Regions from separate parts of the Homo sapiens genome. Here region 1 is linked to region 2. Evidence: promoter capture Hi-C in human tissues and cell types (Jung and others, 2019). All regions are on one chromosome and are shown on one strand. Each heading gives the region's core, a stretch centred on a gene start or on the middle of the fragment in contact. The rest is flanking DNA. Distances are from core to core; before and after follow the strand shown.

Region 1 (3,503 bases), core at 175-2,674, 530 kb before region 2:
TAAGCCTTTTTTCTTCTCATATGTTGCTGTAGGAGAGCATATCATCACTTTTGGAAAGCAAAAATTATGTAGAAAATCACCTTTTGCTTTATTCTTAAGAAGGCCATCCGTTTTAAAAGTAGATCTAAGACTGTTAGCTTCCTCAACCACTGAGACACAATCTAAAAGTCACACCACTGAAAAGAGCCGCTTTAAGAATTAATGTATTCCACCGGGGTTAAATCATTTCTGATTTCCCTCAGGAGGGTAGTAATATCTACTAGCACTAGTGCCCAGCATCAAAGTTTATATCATCTTTTAAAACTCAACATTTTATAGACTCTACAATGCATGGATTACTTTTATTCATATGAAAGTAATATAAAATGTTACCTAACTTAAATAATATAAAATATCGGTTTAACCAAATTAACAATCACAAAACTGCAGACATTTTTCTATTAAAGTTTTCCAGTTCACTGAGCAATATTTACTGAAAAATATGATTATGAACTTAAATATGTCCTCTTTAAAATTTGCTGTTTATGCTAGACTGTACAATGGTGCTCCCTTTATGATTTTTAAAAATTTTACTTACATAACTATGTAATTCCAAAATAGAAAAGTGAGTGAGCCATCACTAAAATTTACTGGAAACTAATATTCTTTCATGGAAACAACTGATAAACATTTTAAAGTTCTATATTTATTTAAATTTGGCTTTTTAAAATAGGTAAGCTTTTCATTTCAATTATTGTTTAATACTTTAAAGCTAGTTTAAACAAAGATAAAACCAAGGAGAACTAGTAAAGCATTCCTTACTTTACATACAGTGCCTCAAGTGCCACATACATAATAACATATCACAAAAGAATGTATATGGTTTAGCAGATTACAGAGCAAACCTAAAAGTTTATACAAAGCTAAACACTGCCTCCCTTCTGTTCCATTTATTGTCTTTTAATTTGATCTTGGCTCTGTATTATCCTTCTATAATACCACTGTGTGACATCTATCAGTCTTCTAAGTGTTCTGATTACTTATATATACCTTTTTCTTTAAACAGCTTTGTAACATTTGAGAACATTCATCCAATCTTTTCCATTAGATATGATATATTCATTTTTCTCACAAAATGCTCACTTTCCTGAGCTATATTAAACACCTTATAACAGGTGTATGTGTAACTGAAGACCCTAAAATGTCAAGTTTACATTTTTTTTTAAATGCATAGAGAATATAACATTTCAGAAAACCTATTAGTACTTCTTGGATATTATAACATATAGGTTTTGTTTCCTTTAGACTGTAAACTGTTTAATACGTATAACTGGTTATTTCACATCCGAACCACATTAAAAAAAATTCGGAGATATGACTGCTATTACACTAAGGAAACAAGTGGAATTTTCTGACCAAAACTCATTCATGGGTCTTCCGATAAACAATCTTTACATATACTGACTGAAGATATCAAATTTCTGTGCCACAAAATAGTAGAATTATATCAGAACTACAGCAAATAAAACTTTAATTATAATACATTTGCTTGAAATTAAGGTGCTATTCATCATGCAGTTTTTACCAAGTGGGCATCATGTCGGGAAACCACACCCTACCAAGATGCTTGGACACTTCCCAGTGAATCTGCTCCAAACTATACTTTTGGTCAGGAATTAGTACTTCTTCCATAATGGATAATTGAGATAGGCGGCCACCACACATCTTCACAAACTCAACAAAGGCACTACATGAGACTTCACATTCCCCTAGTCCAATAGCTGACAAATTTTTGCAACGTTCTGCAATGCGAATTAACTCTTCATCAAGTGGCCGTAATCCATTTGCACACACTACTAGTTCAACCAGTCTAGGGCATGTCATTCCCACACGGCCAAGCACATCTTTGCTTACTGATCTCCCAAAGTACAGATGGGTGGCAGGTATTTCATAGCGAAAGAAGGGGTCAAATTCTTCTTCATATAAAAAAAAATACATCACTAAGTTCACTTTGGGTGAATGTCTGATGAAAGCATCCCAGCTACTCTTCTGAATAGTATGGAAGTGTGTCTGTCCAGGATTCTCACTGACTACATCAATGCGCAAATGTTCTAATCGAACATGTTTTTCAGAAGACAATGCAAGTAACAACTCATCACTCAATAAGTGGTAGTTCAGGGCTAGTTCTCTTAAGCCGTGACACTGATCAGCCACACAAAGGATACCTTGAAAGAAAAAAAAAATTATTTGCAAGTTTTTGTAAAAGTTTATCTGTTGAAAAATTCAATCAAGTACATGTCCCACAAAAGTTTGTCACAGTTCCCTTACCACAAAACTATATAATTTAAAATGTGCATAGTTGAATTAGAAGGGAAGTAACAAACATTTAAAATCTATTACTAATTTTGTCTACAAGAAAATGAAACCAATTCTAAATCCCATCTATTAAAAAGAAATAAAACTCAGTTAACTCTGTCATTTAAAAAATACACCATCACTAAGGTTAGGGCATTCCAGTAATGCACAGACAGTGCCATATTTTTAAAAAGTTATTACTAACACTAAACTTATAGGTTAGGTAATTACAGGACCACTGTGACGGAGGCCAAAGGACATTTTTTGAAGTTCAAAACCTAATCCTAATAAAAACAGAGTAAGATAGAACCATATAAAACTATGAATTAGGTAATGAAAGAAAACATTTACAAACTAAAGATTCTATCAAATGATCAAGTCTAATTGCTAATAGCATATAAGCAGCTTATTAAACTTATAAGAAAAAATACCAAGATATCACTAAGTATGTCAAAAATAACTACTCAATTCACATTAATGGAAATATTCATTATGACTTTCGAAGCTCTAACATACCTAGAAAGCAGTTCCCTTAGATGATTCCCTATACTTAGGGTGCCATGCTTTATAACTTACCAAAACTATCATCCTAGCAACAGATGACATTGCAAAGGTCAATGTTTGATCTCTCTGTAAGAGTTCTGTTTTTGTTTTCAGTCAGTCTCACCCTGTAGCCCAGGCTGGAGTGCAGTGGTGTGATCTCAGCTCACTGCAGCCTCTGCCTCCCGGGTTCAAGCAATTCTCTTGCCTCAGCCTCCTGAGTAGCTGGGACCACAGGCGTATGCCACCACGCCTGGCTAATTTTTGTATTTTTGCTGGAGACAGGGTTTCACCATGTTGGCCAGGATAGTATCGAACTCCGGACCTCAAGTGATCCACCCATCTTGGCCTCCCAAAGTGCTGGGATTACAGATGTGAGCCACTGCACCCGGCCTACTATAAGAATTCTACCCCAAAGAGGCACCTTATATTACCTGGTAAGTTACCCATTCAATCCATTTCTTCCTTATGTTTAGAAACAGGGATAGGAACAAGAAAACATACACCGTATTTTCATCTATTTATTGTTACAAGTATGATGTGCCAGGTACTAGATGTTATCCCACAAATAATTTTAAAAATCTGGAAAAGTATTATTTCTACTTTGAAGTGGAGACAGCTAGCTAAAA
Region 2 (3,297 bases), core at 450-2,949:
TCACTCAGCTGCATTGTAGTTTTCAGGAGCAGTTGTTCAGGGGGGATTTGGTTCATTGCTGGTGTGACATATGAATGACGATCACCCAGGAAGTTCTGATGACGTGGCTTCTCTCAACAATGTTTGCTAAGCTTCTTTAAAGCCTCTTTGGCTCTTAGGGAAGGTGTGTTTCAAAACCTGTAACAGGAGTCCCCGCCTAGAATGGCTCTTCAGTGTTACTCCTTCCTCCCAGCGGAAGCAGCCTTTGTTTTTTGTTGGGTTTTTTTTGTTTTTTTTGTCTGTTTGTTTTGTTTTTTGAGATAGGGTCTCACTCTGTCACCCATACTGGAATGCGGTGGTGTGATCACAGCTCACTGTGGCTTGGTCCTCCCATGCTCAAGAGACTCTCTTTGCCTCAGCCTCCTGAGTAACTGGGACCAAAGACATGCACTACCACACCCAGCTGATTTTTTTATTTTTAGTAGAGATGAGATCTTCTCTTACTGTGTTGCCCAGTTTGTCTCGAACTTCTTGGCTCAAGTGATCCTCCCACCTTGGCCTCCCAAAGTGCAAGTGAAAGCCACTGCAACTGGCCAGAAGCAGCCTTTGATGTTGGGTCTACTGCTGCCCTCAGCATTGAAAGAAGTTTCAACCATCCTTTTCACATTTTTTTTTTTTTTCTGAGACAGTCTCACTCTGTTGCCTAGGCTAGAGTGCAGTGGTGTGATCTTGGCTCACTGTAACCTCCACTTCCCTGGTTCAAGTGATTCTCCTGCCTCCTCCTGCCAGAGTGGATGAATGGTTCTTCTTCTTCTTGACCATCTAATCATTGTCCACTCAGACTTTAAAACTCTGCATCAACATCACCTTCCAGGTTCTTCCTTCTCTCCACTATGCGATGCCTGGCATTGAAAATTTCTGTATATGACTTTATCATGGTGTGTTATAGTTATTTAATATAGCTGGGGTTACAGGTGTGTGCCATCACGCCCAGCTAATTTTTATATTTTTAGTAGAGATCAGGTTTTACCATGTTGGCCAGGCTGATCTTGAACTGCTGACCTCAGGTGATCCGCCTGCTTCCACCGCCCAAAGTCCTGGGATTACAGATGTGAGCCACCACGCCTGGCCCCTTTTCACATTTTTTTATACATGGATAAATAAGATAGAGATTAGAATTCTTACATGCTAGGTGTATTTTCCCTCTGATAGTTTTACAAAATAGTCTAGGTGTAGAATGTGTGGAACAGACTTCTTTTGTGTTTTCTAATCCTAGGGTTCCTGGGTTTCTGAGAATTTGTTTGTCTTGAAGATTCCTTTAAGCCATATACTCCTTGCATGCTTGTCTGTGCCCCTGCCTTCCAGGTACTATGGGTGTATGGGGGTTCCTTCTATCTTGAGTTTTCAATTTTATTTTTTGAAAGAGAATACAAAATAGGTTGGGTCCTATGCCACCTTGTCAGTGATATGGTTGTGCATACTGTTGATATCAGTTAAAAGGGTGATCACAGGAGCATATATATATATATGTTTTTTTTTTTTTTGCATAAGGCCATAAGTTAAACAAAGAATTCAAACAAAGACAGTAGGTATATGAGTGAGAATGCTTTAATTGAACTGGTATTTGTACAAGGTGACACCCTGTTGCATACCACACACCTCCTCCCTGAGTGACTCAGCCGCTGAGCAAGAAACCTCTGAACTGTTCACTAATACAGTCAGGTAGAGGTTGAGACTCCACTGAATAAACTCTAGGTTCCCATTTCTTTCAGCCAGATCCTCCCAGGGAATCACTACAGGCTGGTTAGCCAAAAAGTCCTGATTTTCTGCTCAATAGAGGTAAGTTGAATTATACTTGCAAACAGAAATACATCTGCTGTATGTGCACAGCTTTCTCTGTGTTCCTTACAAATGATTAAAATTAGAACTTACTGTATTATCTTTGTCTTTTCTTCCTGTAAATTTTGACAGCCTCCAGCTGGCTGTTAGCTCTGCTCTTCCTTGCTGTACTTTTAGGTCACATTGCATTGAACTTCTTGGCAATTTTACACGTTATGGGCATCACAGAAACGAGCACCTATTTGATTTTCTGGGTGGGAGCTGTCAGCTGGTGAATCCTGCCACACAAAGGATAATAAATTCTTTAAGTGAAGGGACCAGCACCTGCTGGTTTATTTTCTCAAGCGACTATACAAACATTTTTTAAAGGATCTTTCTGTTTTCATAAATGATGCTTTTAGTGAAATAGTGAACTCAAATATTGCTTTATAGTTAATAAGTCATATTTATTTTTTTCTCTACTGCTAAAAATATTGCAAGTTGCTGAGCTATGAGAGAGAGAGAGGTTTATATTTATGAGGTTTTTGTCTCCACCCTATCTTCCCCAAATAAGAAAATCACCATTTCTCACTTGAAAGTACCAAGGAGTAAAGGCAGGGTGTGGGAGCAGAATAAGGGTACATGGTTCCTCACAGGGATCTGTGGGCATCTGGCCAACTTCTCTATGGTATATTCTGCATTCTAACCTAAGGAGTGATTAATGTATATGGGGGCAATTTTCAAACTTTATTCATAGCCTAGTCCTGAAAAACCAGTTTTGGGAGACTTTTGATAAGGCTAGAAGAGTTCTTTTAACAGAGCTTTCTTTTATAATTAATAGCTAAGCTGACTTGTGTTTTTTCTCATCATTTCTATTTATGATACAGAGCTGTGGGATTCAAATGCAGGGGCCACTCACAGCTTGCAAATTGCAGCTCTGTGTCCTCCAGAGAGGTGCCCCCACAGCATACCTGGCTCTATCTGTAGTACTTGAGTTCTCATGGCTTCCTATTGCTGACAAGGTCACCTGCAGTCTGAGAGGGGGTTAGACACACCAGTGCTCATTTCCCAAAGGTTTACAGAAGAATTTTACAACTTGGCTTTCAAGTGTTTATAGTAACCAGAAAACTAAAGTGTAGCAAGTGTGGATAATTTTATTTTTCATAAAATGTGATTACATTTAAAACTGTCTTTCACTTCCATAGTTTATAACGTAGATAAAGCCTTCCTAATATATGTGGTGCTCCAGTGTTTAAAGTATTGGAAACATCAATTTGAGAAAACTGAGAAATGACAACAGTAAAAATTTTAGTAAAACATTCAGATGATCCTAAATGTCGGGATATGCATAGAATGCCAACAACAGGCCAGAATTTTTATTGGAATGTTAGCGTCGTATAAATCTTAGATCTAATTGACAGAATATTTCAACTGAAACGGAGCATAGGCCCATCTAGTCTAATGCCTGAATTTTCTAGTTGAGAAAATCAAAGCATAAAT

What was found. The method cuts DNA at HindIII sites, captures the fragments that hold promoters and counts their contacts. A contact is called where the count stands out against the background at its distance.
Region 1: a fragment that was not itself captured here is called in contact with the fragment with the promoter of SCEL in region 2 in 1 of the 25 tissues and cell types used here (lymphoblastoid cells).

Annotation. Positions count from the first base shown.
Region 1 is chr13:77,005,585-77,009,087 of GRCh38, forward strand. It overlaps FBXL3 (F-box and leucine rich repeat protein 3), which reads right to left. Exons shown (of 5, transcript NM_012158.4): 5 at 1-2,204. The coding sequence ends at 1,561. Among named protein-coding and RNA genes, the nearest start is that of CLN5, 15 kb to the left of the region's middle. The HindIII fragment of the contact is 6,150 bases long and covers 1-3,503 here.
Region 2 is chr13:77,534,007-77,537,303 of GRCh38, forward strand. SCEL (sciellin) reads left to right here and starts at 1,700. Exons shown (of 33, transcript NM_144777.3): 1 at 1,700-1,818. The HindIII fragment of the contact is 8,761 bases long and covers 1-3,297 here.